5 separate regions of the Homo sapiens genome follow, and regions 1, 2, 4 and 5 are each linked to region 3. The links are contacts of gene promoters, found by promoter capture Hi-C in blood cells and fetal thymus (Javierre and others, 2016). All regions are on one chromosome and are shown on one strand. The core of a region is centred on a gene start or on the middle of the fragment in contact, and the rest is flanking DNA. Distances in the headings are between cores, read along the strand shown.

Evidence for each region. Contacts are between HindIII fragments. The CHiCAGO score rates a contact against its expected background, and 5 or more counts as called.
Region 1: a contact is called between a fragment that was not itself captured here and the fragment with the promoter of SPTLC2 in region 3, in 4 of 17 cell types (total CD8 T cells, total B cells, naive B cells and 1 more). The highest score is 7.5, in total CD8 T cells.
Region 2: a fragment that was not itself captured here is called in contact with the fragment with the promoter of SPTLC2 in region 3 in 4 of 17 cell types (total CD8 T cells, total B cells, non-activated CD4 T cells and 1 more); the score reaches 7.1 in total CD8 T cells.
Region 4: a fragment that was not itself captured here is called in contact with the fragment with the promoter of SPTLC2 in region 3 in 1 of 17 cell types (naive B cells); the score reaches 5.3 in naive B cells.
Region 5: a fragment that was not itself captured here is called in contact with the fragment with the promoter of SPTLC2 in region 3 in 1 of 17 cell types (naive B cells); the score reaches 5.2 in naive B cells.

The regions. Positions count from the first base shown.
Region 1 is chr14:77,127,345-77,130,044 of GRCh38, forward strand. No RefSeq gene overlaps it. Among named protein-coding and RNA genes, the nearest start is that of ZDHHC22, 13 kb to the right of the region's middle. The HindIII fragment of the contact is 5,677 bases long and covers 1-2,700 here.
Region 2 is chr14:77,104,942-77,107,758 of GRCh38, forward strand. It overlaps CIPC (CLOCK interacting pacemaker), which reads left to right. Exons shown (of 4, transcript NM_033426.3): 2 at 716-903. The coding sequence starts at 768. Among named protein-coding and RNA genes, the nearest start is that of CIPC, 8.1 kb to the left of the region's middle. The HindIII fragment of the contact is 1,677 bases long and covers 576-2,252 here.
Region 3 is chr14:77,615,274-77,617,973 of GRCh38, forward strand. It overlaps SPTLC2 (serine palmitoyltransferase long chain base subunit 2), which reads right to left and starts at 1,364. Exons shown (of 12, transcript NM_004863.4): 1 at 1,175-1,364. The coding sequence starts at 1,306. RefSeq lists enhancers at 621-830, 1,159-1,691 and silencers at 1,011-1,210, 1,351-1,400, 1,731-1,790. The HindIII fragment of the contact is 6,254 bases long and covers 1-2,700 here.
Region 4 is chr14:77,334,374-77,337,073 of GRCh38, forward strand. TMED8 (transmembrane p24 trafficking protein family member 8) reads right to left here. Exons shown (of 6, transcript NM_213601.3): 6 at 656-2,700. Among named protein-coding and RNA genes, the nearest start is that of GSTZ1, 15 kb to the left of the region's middle. The HindIII fragment of the contact is 9,857 bases long and covers 1-2,700 here.
Region 5 is chr14:77,292,651-77,295,400 of GRCh38, forward strand. All of the region lies in intron 9 of POMT2 (protein O-mannosyltransferase 2), which reads right to left. Among named protein-coding and RNA genes, the nearest start is that of NGB, 23 kb to the left of the region's middle. The HindIII fragment of the contact is 4,904 bases long and covers 1-2,750 here.

The DNA of each region.
Region 1 (2,700 bases), core at 64-2,563, 490 kb before region 3:
TTTTTTACCTGGAACGTCAGGGTTATAATAAAACATACCTTGTAGGATTGCTATGAGGAATACATGAGTTAATACAGATAAAGTGTGTACAGGACAAGCACCTGGCATGTAGGGAAGGCTCAGCAAATCTTGGTCATTGTTACCAGCAGTAGAATGACTGTATCAACAATGTTAGTGTCCTACACCATGCTAGGGACAGGGGGAAACTAAAGGATTCCACCATCTCCATTTCTGCTTTCCAAGGGCATGCAGTAGTTAGGAGACAAAACCTACAGGAGAGAGTAAGAGTGACAGAGAGCTGCCAACAGTAGTGGGAGTTTGAAATAGAAGGTTTCCAGGGGGCTGGACCAATTGAAGAAAGGTCCTATGGAGAAGTGCGATGTGGAGGAGGGGCTGGGAGGGGCCTAGGCTAAAGGAGGAGGCATGCTGGGGCCACCAGGTTACAGGATGTGGGGAGGTGCCCACCAGGGTGCAGAGGTCCACGCAGAGAGCTGCCTTGCCAGTCCAGATGGGGCACTGTACATAACAAAAGGTCACTGCTTACATCTCAGGGTTCCAGCCTTTCCAGTTCTATTGTAAGTCCTGGAAGCCATCTTGCTAGGAATGGTGTCCTTCCAATGCCATTTGCTGAGGCTGTGCAGGAAGGCAAGAGTGATGGGGAGCTCCCAGAGACCCCTCTTTGGGCCCAGAGAAGACTAGGAATCTCTGATGTTCCCAGGTGAGCTCTAGCATCTTTGGGCTGATTCTCTGGAAAATGAACTTAACCTTCTACCTTTGATCGCCAACCTGGAGACTTGCGGATCCTTTAGAAAAACTAGACATCAGTTCATGCTTGACTCATCCAAACGGACACCATGAGCTGGTGTGAGTTAGGGTTTTCTAAGAAGTGATCAGAGGAAGGAGGCAGGGTCCATGGGGAGCGTGGCCTGAGGACAAACCTGCAGTTGTGGCTGCAGGTATGTGCTCACATCCCACCATTCCTAAATGCAGACTTGCAATTCCCAGAAACCACCTGGTATCTCTGCCTCTGTATAGTCCCTCCTACCTCCACTCCCACCCACAGCCCTGCTTTTCTGCCTGGCCCCCTCCTATTCATCCTGCATGACCCAGATGTTGCCTTTTCTGGGAAGCCTTCAGGTCCGCCCTGGTAAAGTAAGTGCTCTCCGCCAGGCTTCTGTAGCACCCTGTCCTCCCATCGGCACTTTCATGCCACTGAATCACAACCATCTGCAATTTGTTCTCTTCCTAGTGAGCTCCCTGAGATCAGGTACTGGGTCTCTTTCATCTTTGCATTCCTGGTTCTTGGCATCATGCCTGGCATAGAGTCAGCATCGATGAATGTTTTTGAAGAATGAGTGGAGGAGCTGGGCCAGTACCATGAATAGAGAGGGGAATGAGAGCAGAAGCAGAGGCCAACACCAGGAGCAACTGAGCTACTCCCAGACACCTCCCGCCCCCACCAGCAGGCTCACTGTGGCTGGTGAGCAGGCCCAAGGTTCTGCCTCATCTTTAACGTGTCTCAGATAAGTTAGGAGAAATGCCTCCTCTCTCCCTGCCCATCCTTCCTTTTCTTCCTGGCAGGAGGGGCTGCTTCCCAAGCATCCCCGAGGGCATGCTGAGAGGCAGGGCAGGAGGGAGATGAGGGGGAATCTCATGAGCAATGAGGCCAGTTGGAGGACACTGGGTACAGACAAAAGCCACAGTATTTGGAGGACCAAATGCATGGACAGTAACAAGGACAGTCATCTTCCTAAGGAGAAAGACTGGCTAACAGATGGTCCCTGGGACCTAAGGACTGACTTGTTACAGTGGAGGGGGACCTGGGTTGAAGTCTCCTCAAGTTTGTTGTCTTTCCAAAACTCCTTGGGTTCCTGGAGCTTAGAGTGAGGCAGTTCCTGCCTTGCCTAATCTGACACTAGGGCATGGGTCAAAGCAGAGTGTACCCACTTTCTGGATGGAAAGCATCTCACTCCAGCACATGGGCCTGAGGACCCATGATCTCTATTGGCACTGACAGATGATTCTACCCCTGCTGTGGGAGTCAGAGAGCTGTGCTGTAAAGAATGACTGGCAGATGTCCCTGAACCCCTTCCTCCATGGACGCAGAGTGGTTAGTTAAGAATGACACCATCAACTGCCATCTGACGGGCCAACGACAGAGGCTAGTGCATGAGATGGCCCTGAACCCTAGTGTCACAATCTTTTCCACCCCAATCCTCCTAACAATCACCCCGTTTTCACCTTCAGGGCCATCTTGGGCCCCCTCCCTAGCATTCCTCTACTCATGCTCCATGTCTGTGAAGTGCCTCTGATATCTTTCCCCTCTTTACCATCCCACAACCACTATCCCCACCCGGATCCCGGTTACATCTCACTGAGATATAGTACATGCCTCTTACCAGGTCCCTCAACCTCCAGTTTCTCCCACTTCCAGTCTATCCTCCAAGGCTGCGCTTTCTGAAATCTACCTCTGATCATGCTGCTCTCTTGCTCAGAACTTTCAGTGGTTCCCTATTGCCTGTCAAATGCCCTCCAGGTCCCTTAGCTTGGCATTCAGAGCCCTCTCTGCTTGGGTCCCTACTCTCAGCCTTAACCTCCTCTGCCTCTTTGTGATATCCCTTATACCCCAAGGCCCAGGCCTGTTCTCTGTCCCTGGAAAGCCCTCCCTGTCCCTCTTTGCCTGCTGAAATCTCATCCATC
Region 2 (2,817 bases), core at 164-2,663, 510 kb before region 3:
CAGTTTCCTCCCCTGTAAAGTGAGATAGCAACTGAAGATGACATTGTGAGGCTCAAGTGAGATAACACTAATAGCAACGCATATTATAAGCTCTTTATTATATATGATTTTATTTGCCCATAAAAGTGTTTTTTAAGCCTAAAAGTAGCATGCATGTATAGGGAGTTGTTTTTGCTCTCTGTTCAATACCTCAGCCAAAGGATTTAGAGGTTAATTTGAGAAACACAACACTGTGGGAGGTGGCAATAGGTCATGAGCCTGCAAATGTACACGAGGAAAGCAAGCCTTGCGGTGTCTCTTTTCTCCTCTCCCCTTTCCCCTCTCCCCCTCCTTCTGCCCTCTCTCTTCTCCTGTCTTCCTTTTCCCTTCTCTTCACTCCCCTGTCCCCTCTCCCCTCTGGTGAGTTCATTTCGTTACCCATTGGAAAAAGCCTAATCAAATGTGCCTTTGTTAGCAGTTTACAAAGCGAATGCTGAATGTGGTTTGTGTGCCTTGAATTTGTAATGGAATTAGAGGGCAGCCAGAGGACTGTGAATCTCCTTATGGGTGGAAACCATTCTGTTTAGTAAACTTGAAGCTTTTGTCAGTTGAAACCTCTGAGAAAATAAAGCTGAAGTGGGTGAGGCCAGTGTTCTTTGCCCATACTTTATTCACTGTTTGGATCACCTGTTTCAGCTCTCCAGGCAGTGACTTCTTATATAATTGTTTTTCATAGGGCAGTCCAGATGAAAAGAGTACCAATGAATCTGCCTCCAGCTGAATAAACCATGGAGAGGAAAAACCCATCCAGAGAGAGCCCCAGAAGACTCTCTGCCAAAGTAGGCAAAGGCACAGAGATGAAGAAAGTGGCTCGTCAGCTTGGGATGGCTGCTGCTGAGTCAGACAAGGACTCTGGCTTTTCAGGTTAAAAATATCTTATCCTTCCTCTGTTTTGTGAGTGAATGCTTTGCGTGAAAAATTTCCTCCCCAAAACTCATTTATGTGATAAGGATGGGATGCTTTCACACACAGGATAAATACTTACCTGCTTTAAAATGGTAATTCTGATGCCATATGTCAGGGTACCCATCAAAGTCACCACAGGGTTAGTTCTGAAAGAATTATTTAACATCTTTTTTCAACTTAGACTCTGAATCTTACACTTCCAACTATTGCAATTGGTCACTGGAAAAAATATTTAAATACTCATAATTCTGTTGTTTTACTTCCTTTTTCACAGGAATTATTACATTGTAGGGGAAAAATTGCTACTGCATGTAGTTTCCATGTAACAAATTGGAAGACTGCCAGTTAAATAAAAGTAATACTGTATATAATTTGTAAGGTAACTTTTTCATTGAGAAAGTAGTTTCGCTGTGTTTAGAAATGTACGCCTCCAACAACCCCTCCCCCCAGTCTCTATGCATTTTGTATTTGGACTGTGAGCCACCTGGCCTAGCTCTAAACTTGAGTATCTATTAGAGATAAGAAAATAGAACAGTTTTCCTTACAAGTTTTTCTTAAACCTTACCCAAAAGGGCTAGCTGCATATATATTGAATCATTCAATTTTGTGCTGGGGCTCTTTTTTTATTTCCCGCTCTGAGGGTAGTGGCTTGAATATGGCGCTAGTGTGATTTTTGGCGCGGGGATGCAGAGGGGTGATGCTGAGGGATTCTGGTCAAGTCAACATCCTGAGAGTAGAACCCTCTCAAGGAGAAGATTTATATTATCCAGACTCACAAAGACAAATCAATCAATTTTGATTTATTAACTTATAGTGAGAAATGCAGCTGTTAGGAAAACTAGAACTCTCTTGTCTTTAGATTGGCATATTTTCTCCCTGTAGGCATGCTGCTTGAAAAGGCAAATTATAAATAGACCGTTGCTCAAAGAGGAACAGAGCGCCAACCAAGGGATTAGATTAAAAGGAATTAGTTGCCCTGCCCAGGGCCAGGACAGTCCAGGGAAGGGCGGGCCAACCTTCCCTTTGGATTTTTCTTCTCTCTCTCAGCATTGTTTCCTAAGCCTGCCTCATCATAAGGCTCACCTGAGGCATTTGTTAAAAATATTGATCACCAGATCTCCCTCCTGGAGACTCTTTCAAGGGTCTGGACAGGGCCTGGAATGTGGGTTCTTTTAAAAAACAAGTGTTTCTGTTGTATGATCAGACAGGTTTGGGAAACACTGGAGGCCTAGTGCCTCTTTTTTTCTTTTAATATCACGTTTGCTTTTTGTTTATGTTTCATTTCATGAATACGTGCTCATTGTAAAAGCTTGGACAGGTAGGAAAGCATGAAGAAGAAAAACATTATCCATAATCTTACCATCTATTATTTCCAGTACTGTTGACATTTTGACACTTCTAACAACTTCAACTTTGTCAGGCCAGTTGTTTTAAGAATATTGTACTACTCAGATATAAGGTGGTATTAAAATAATCAAACTCATTATGCCCCAGAAAGTAGCCCCAGTGAATGCCACTGGAATGCTTCGAGCCACTCTTGGGCCAGGTGCCAGTGATTTCCTCACTGCCTGAGTTATTCCAGTTACCTTGGAGTAGGATGAAATTTGCAAAATCAAGACAATTTTTCCCATTTTAATTACCACATTTGTAGTTCAAAAAATTTCAAATCTATACAAAAGCAAATGAATACCCCATATGTCTATCTTTTTGCCATATATGCTTTCTCTCTCTCGCTCTCTTTACACACACACACACACACACACACACACACACTCTCTCTCTGAATTATTTGAAAGTAAATTGCAAACACTTGACATTTTACCCCATGTAGCTTCAGTACAGATTTCCTAAAAACAAGGACATTCTTCTATG
Region 3 (2,700 bases), core at 114-2,613:
TTATTTTTCCCCTCAACTCAGTCTCAATATCTCAACATGACCTGGAAAAATGCTTTATTTTCTGCTTCGCAGCAAACAGTAACAGACCTATCCATCATAACTACTCATCTGGGGAGTAGTTATGTTAAAGCCAAATTAAGATCACCATCCTATCAAACTGCAACAGTCACACTCCCGCTAAAGGGAAACAGAGTACTTTCTAAGCGTTCCTTAATATCTGTACAAGACTTAAACGTATTAAAGTCAACTGCAAAATTATCGCAACACTCTCTTCCAGGAACACCGATCTTGCATCTTTTTAACCAGCTCATCTTTAAAAACACATTTCAACAGAATATCTGTCAGTCCAGACCACTGTAAGGTTGATAATAAGCATTGTCTTGAATTTAGAACTTTTCAAAATATTTTAGAACTGCCTGAACTTGGTTGATGATTCAGCATGGTTAATTAGTATAGAGTCATCGCAAGTCACCACCAGGCTAAACAATCCCCTTGTGTGATAGCACTCGTGTTCAGGAAAGGGTCGAAGGGGCCACCTAATCCAACCTGGAGCCTGGGGTAGAGTCTCACCACCGGCAGAGTTAAGAGAATGATGCTTTCGAGGGACCAGCTTGGATTCCCTGCCAGATCTATGGACCAATGTCCTGGTTGGGGACTGAACGTGGTAGTCCAGAATGTGGTTGGGAGAGGCTGGGTGTGTTTCCATCTGACACCACCGCCTAATTTTCTTTGCTTCTTAAGGACCCCATGGGTGGTTTTCTTTGGACGACTGCAGGACTTTAAAAGGAAGCAATAACCTCAGGGGTTTGAGAAGGGACCCTCCGGAGCCCTTGGGCGGCTCCCACTGGAGTCCGAAGGGCCCCTCATCGCTTCCCCTGGGGACAGCACACACTTCTGGCAGAATGGGGCAGAGAAAAGTACCCGGAGCTCTGAGCAGAACCCAGAGCTCCGGGAGTAAGACCTCCAGGCGCGGAGAGGTGGGGAGCCCCCGAGCCGTCCTTGAGCCTCCAGGCTCGTGGAGGTCGGGCCAGCGGCCGGACACTGCCGCCCACACCTGCGAACGGCGCCCGCCCCGCGGATTGCCCAGCGGATGGCCCGGAGACCTCGCCCCGCCCGGCCGCCCCTCCGCCAGTCCACACCGCCACCCCGGCCCCGCCGCGCGGGCCCCTCGTACCTGGCCGGCGGCGGCTGCGGCTGCGGCTGCAGCGCTGCTCCTCACGTACCCGTTCCGTACTTCCCCGTTCGCCACGCAGCCATTCGCCCGCACCGTGCGGCGGCAGCAGCAGCCTCCGGGCTCCGGCCGCATCTTCCTGGCAGCACCAGGCGCAAGGCAGGCTCTGTAGGCGGTGGCAGCGGCGGCGGCTGCTCCAAGTCCCGCTCCGCACCCCACCCACCTCCCCGAAACCGGAAATGGCTGCAGCGCCGCCGCCAATTCCCGGGCGGGCCTTCACAGAGGGCGGGGCCCTCTCCGCAGAGGACCGGTCTCGGCCAAGGCCACGCAGCGAAGGGAAAAAGCGGCGGGGACCTGCCGAGAGGGATGTGGTCCTGAGGACCGCTGACCAATCTGGAAGAGAAGGAGGCGGACCCCATGCTGCTGCCTGGCCAATCACGGACGAGAGCAAAGCGCCTCGCCGGTGGAGAGGGGGCTTCTCTAGAGGGACTCCAGGGCCTGGCACCTGATTGGAGGCCGCATCCAGGTCCGGGGTAGGGCTTGCCTGTTTAATGGTCCAGACCGAGGAGGAGGCGGAGCCCAGGGAAAAGTAGCCAATTAGAGTGTGAGGAAATAAAAGGGGCTGAGCCGAAGTCTCTAGAGCGGGTTCCCAGGTTCTCCAGGACAGGTGGCGCCCTCTTTGCCCTTGCCTCGTGGGAAGTTTTGGAGTTTATGTCCTAGCCCAAGACAGGCAGCTCGCTTATTTAATTAGCTGATTCCTCTGTGAGTGTTTATAGAATAGATTTTTTGACAATCTCTCATCATTCTTCAATATGCGCCACACATTCACTATTTCTGAATTATTATAAGTAATAATTCAGATGCCTTTTCACGTGCCCTTCACATTTGCCCTTGGCAGGGTTTTCTATACAGTCTCCTTTAAATTAAGTCTTTCCTTCAAAGTTAGAAAACCTGGTCTAATTCCAACTCTGCCAATAACTGGAAGCTAAAACTTGAGCACTGTGTTTAACCACTTTAGAAGCCAAATTCTTTAAAATGGAGTTAATACTTCCTGCTTCATAGACTTACAGCAAGAATTATATCATTAACCCATTATGCACCTCTTATAATACTAGGCTTATAGTAGGAGTATAATAAATATTATTTTCTCACCCTTTTAGTTCCATCTTCCCATGGGGTTAGAAAGCAAGGAAATTGATCTACATTACAATTAGAGACTTTCTGTTATCCATAAAGAATTTAGTATCATAATTGAGAGTATGGACTCTGGAGTCGGTCTGGGTTTTAAATCCTAGCTGCGCCACTTACTAGCTGAGTGACCTCTATGTGTCTTCATCTGTTCAGTGGGGACAATAATAGTTGTCGTGAAGATTGAATAAGTTTATGTATGTAATGTATTTTGTACAGGACCTAGCAATTAGTAAGCATTCATTAAGTGTTGGTTACTAGTAATTGCTAAATGCACCTATGAGAATCCGTGCATTCTTTCCCCACCCTGCAGGAGCTTTAGAAAGGAGGTCCACAAGGTA
Region 4 (2,700 bases), core at 95-2,594, 280 kb before region 3:
ATTCAACTGAATTGTTTCAGATCCCTTCTCTTTCATGCTTCAACCTCTAAAATATGTTGCAACAGAAAGCAGAGAATGATCTAACAGGTTCATTTTAGCATCACAGATATCACTGAAGGAAATATTTAAATGCCACCCTTCCCTGCTCAGATGTGAGTCCTTATTCTGCAACAGACACTAGGGATGTGGAGAGGCAGTGTTTTAAAAGACAGCAAAGATATATTATGGTGTCACTTTTTGTAAATGAAAATAGGCTGAATTCATATCACCCAGATTACGTTAATGATTGGCCTGGTATCCGAAGTCGAGGTTCCAAATTTGAACAGAATATCTTCATGGGGAAACAGGCCTCACTGGGACCAAATGCTGACATAAAACTCAGAACTTATTAATCATCACTATAAACCCAGTTTTTCCATTCCCAGTTCCCAGGTCATGATACTCTGCCATGAATTTAAATGCAGATGAAAGATCTATTATTAATCTTATTCTCAATTTTTTTTCTTTTTAGTTCTTCTTAACTTTCACAATCTTAATAGATTATGAAATAATTCATATGGGCTTATAGAATACCTTTCTTAAGGAAGATACATGAAAGACAAAGAATTTAAAATGTAAATCAGGTTCATTAAAATATAACTCAGATGTTACCAGGTGCATAGTGAAAAAGTTTATTTATGACAGATTCGAAAACTCAGAAGAGATGACAAAGAATGCACAAAAGCATCACAAAACTGTTACCTAATATAAAACGCAAGAACTGAGCTACTTGAAGAAGCACAGCTCAGAATCATCAGTGTAATCGCAGTAACACACCCAGTGCCACAGGGTGATAAAAATGGTATTTTAAAAGAAAAACCACTCAGCAGGACACAAGAATTAAAGTAACAATTTGGTAAGACTCTTAGAAATCACAGATGTTGATAGCATTTCTCATGATAGGGGACATGTAAAACAAGCTGACCATAATAAATGATTAGTTGGGATACTTTTGTATTTTAAAGAAAAAAGATAAAACAGTGACACGGTTTCCCTTCCAGACCCTTTTTGTAATGTCAGCAACAGTACATGATATAGAACAGTAAGAAAATAATGTCTTTGTAGTTGCCAATTGCTTAAATCTTTACGAAGAAAACATGATCATCTTTCAGTCAACTGACTGATCTGAGTACATGGCACCAAAGAAAGCCCTTCAGAAAATAGAAGCTAAATGACATAAAGTAGTTTGGAAAATCTTCAAGCACCTCCCTTTATTCCAATTATCCTTTTCCAAAGTCTGGCTTTCTTATAATCCATCACTTTGATTACAAAACAGCTCTCTTCTGGGAATTTCAAAACACTTCCCGTTACGTTAAGGGAAAATGGGTACACCAGATTCATGGGTTACAGGATTGCTTTCTCTAGACTTGGCTTCTCTTTAACATGGCTAAATGGAAATAATTTAGCTTGGTTAAATGAAAGCTACTTCACTTACAGGATAATCTCAGGAGACATGAGTGGAGTTTTTCATATGGAATTTCTTAGTAAAATGTACTGTTTAGGATATGAGAGACGGAATTAAGATAATGTTTTCCAGATGATTCTTGGCCTGATCCTAAGAATCAACAATAACAATCAATAGCAAGGAACATTACACATTCAACCCTGAGTGATGAAGAGAGTTCAGGAAGAGAGCCCCTTAAACTCTGAATTAAGGGCTCTTTGGTAATATCATATACTATAATATTTCAAACCAAAACTTCAGAAGGGTTCATGATCCTATTTCAGGACTTTAGAAAATATACTTTGTCCTCTGGAAGCAATTTCACATATATTATTTTGCCCCCAGATAAGCCACAACTACCTGCTTAAATTTTTTTTTAAACTATGGAATTAAATAAACATGCATCTCTAGATTTCTAGGGCAACTTTTCATCATATCTTTGAAGAGTCATGACATTAACTCTGGTCCACATACCTGGGGCCTAAAAAAATCAGGTACATATAATAGGAATCACATCATGAGCCTAATTTCAAAGCCAGTGTCTTGCCTTTGGACTGTGTGTGTGAGGCATGCCTATTTGTAAATGAGCTCCACTATCATTGGTTTTAGGCAATAGTGTTTTCTTAGCTTAGAAATTTCTTACCTTAAGAATTCAAACAGGAGGGGCTTTGTTTAGCCTTCTTGGTTTAGGCAGGGACAATGCAACACTTGAGAGGCAGCAGTGATTTCTGAGCAAAATTCTAAGATATATTCGATAGGTTTGCTCTCCCCTCCCCCCATACTCCTACCCTTTGCCCCCTAATTTTATTTTGTTTTCCCTCGTTGTGATCAATTTTAAAAGACAGTTCTCAAGCAGCACAAAACGGTGTAACTTATGCCCCTCCCTTATGCTCCACTAAAACAAGTCTCTTATGTAAATATTAGGGTCACTCAATTCCACACCTTAGAACCACTGGGGTTAAAAGGCAACCTTCTGCAGATAAGTGGTCTTAACAAACAAATATAAAAGCAGACTTTAGAGTCTGGGTTTCAACTAATTCTCTCAAAGAGGGACTGAGCAGGACTCATAAACATAAACTCATATTCCCTACAGATTAAGACTTTTTATGATAATACCTAATTCTACTGCTTAATATAAGACAGCGTTCAGATTTCACTCTTCCATATACATATTATAATGGGACAATATACACTTTTTTAAAAGTCTGAGTTTTTCT
Region 5 (2,750 bases), core at 143-2,642, 320 kb before region 3:
AAGACATTTTGGTCAACAACAAACTGCATATATAATGGTTGCCCCATAAGATTATAATACCATATTTTTACTATACCATTTCCATGTTTAGATATGTTTAAGTTAATACAAATACTTACCATTGTGTTCCACTGTGTTCCAACTGCCTGCAGTATTCAGTACAGTAACATGCTATACAGGTTTGTAGTCTAGGAGCAATCAGCTATACCATGTAGCTTAGGTGTGTGGTAGGCTGGACCACCTAGGTTTGTGTAAGTACATACTATGATGTTCACCCAACGATCAAATCACCTAATGACCTGTTTCTCAGAAGGTATCCCCCCGATGCATGACTGTACTTACAAAGAGATTTAGAATTAGCATTTAGGGGAAAAATTATTTTGCTTGCATTATGGCTGCTTCTTTTGAGTGGTATTTGCTTTGTTCCTCAGGAAAAAAAAATTAGGGATAATGTTATTAAGAATATACAAGAAGCTAAAAAGTTTTGGTGCTCATAAAGAAATTAAAATGAAGTCTACATTCCTGAGAAAAAGCTCGATATCGTCCATCCAGCCTGGATTTGCTCAAGGAAGTTAAGGTTCTATGATGCTCGTGTGTGTACTCTGTGTAGATGTGTGGTAGGAGAGCAGTCTTTGTGTGTCTGTTTTACAAGAGCAATTATGATTAAAATTCCTACAAGAAAAATTATTTATTTATCATGAGTACAGTCCATGGCCCCTTTTCCCACTGAAATGTTTGTTTTGACAATGGAGATTTTTATACCATGAGATTTCCTAAGAACACAAGTATCCAATTATAGCAGAATGTTGTACATTAAAACATTCAGATAAACACTTAATCTTCTGGGATTACATGTAGCTTTTGTTTTCTTTTTTATACTTTTCTACATTTTCCAATTTTATAAATGCTATGCTTTAAAAACATTCTAAAATAGAGACCTAGACATGTTAACAAGACATTAAACTGCATGGCAGGAAGGGCCACTGGAGATTATTTAGTCCAATCCCCTCAATTTACAGATGAGGAAACAGGATGAAAGGCTAAAAGATCTGGTCAATGACAAAGCCAGACACTTTCGTCCCTTGGCGCAATGCACTTTCCCTATACCACCATCACGTTTCACACCTCCACACATGGGCTCTACGTACATAACACTAGCTTAACAGAGCCTTTCAGAGTTTGGCCTTTCTCTCCCTTTGCACAGTGTAGATGTTCTGGTCACCAGGTCTGTAACTGTAGTGTCTTCTACATGACACCTGCAGCAATTTATCAACACATGAGAACACAGAACATCTAGTTTTCTCTGCCCTGGGTGTACATGACTTAGAATAATTTGGACAGCTTAAAACCAAACCAAAAATGCATAATGCATGGGCCTCATCCTAGATCAATTAAATCATAATCTCTGCAGTGGAGTCCAGGCATCAGAATTTTTAAAAATCTCTCCGTTGATTCTAAGTGCAGCCAGGGCTGAAAACCACTGGGCCAGACATGAATGGAGAATTAAGGATAAGAAACTGATACTAAAATCCAATACCCTGTAATATGGTTTGGCTTTATGTCCCCACCCAATTCTCATCTTGTGGCTCCTCTAATTCCCACGTGTTGTGGGAGGGACCCGGTGGGAGATGATTGAGTCACGAGTGAATGGGTCTCACAAGATCTGATGGTTTTATTTTTTTATTTTTTGAGATGGAGTCTCACTCTTTTGCCTGGGCTGGAGTACAGTGGCGCAATCTCAGTTCACTGCAACCTCCACCTCCCCGGTTCAAGTGATTCTCCTGCCTCAGTCTCCTGAGTGGCTGGGATTACTGGCACGTGCCATCAAGCCCGAGTAATTTTTTTGTATTTTTAGTAGAGATGGGGTTTCACCATGTTGGCCAGGCTGGTCTCAAACTCCTGACCTAAAGTGATCCGCCCACCTCGGCATAAGCCACCGCACCTGGCCAGAGATCTGATGGTTTTTAAAACCATTTTTAAAATGGGATTTTCTCTGCACAAGCTCTCTCTTTGCCTGCCGCCATCCACATAAAATGTGACTTGCTCCTCCTTGCCTTCCACCGGGGTTGTGAGGCCTCCCCAGCCATGTGGAACTTTAAGTCCAATTAAATCTCTTTCTTTTGTAAATTGCCCAGTCTCAGGTATGTCTTTATCAGCAGCATGAAATTGCACTAATACATACTGAGTCACTTTCTAGCAACTAAAAGGGAAATAAAAATAAAGCATTTGGAGAGAGACAACTTTTTGCAAAGAACAAATCTTTGCAAAGTAAAGATTCCATGCTTTTTGCCTCTGTTCACTGTCCTTTGTCATAATTATTGCCTCCAAACTGGTTCCTTGTGAGCTATCACATTTCCACTAAAGTTACCTTTCTAAACTAGAGATCTAATCATAATCATAATAATTTTGATTGCCTCCCTAATGTCTATGGAGCAAAGTCAAATCTACTATAACACAGGCCTCTCCCCAATATGGCCCCACCAACCTCTTCAGCATCCTGCTTCTCCCTCTCAGGCACCATCCACTGCAGCCACACAAACACTCCTTAACATGGACACAGCATCGTTCACTCATTCAGATGATACTCACATGGCTAATCTTTCATAAGCACTTCACATTGTTATCTCATTTAATCCTCACAACTGCCCTTTGATGGAGAGAGGTACTACTCATTTTCCCCAACTTAAAGAGGAGGATACAGGCTGGGCGCGGTGGCTCATGCCTGTAATCCCAGCACTTTGGGAGGCCGA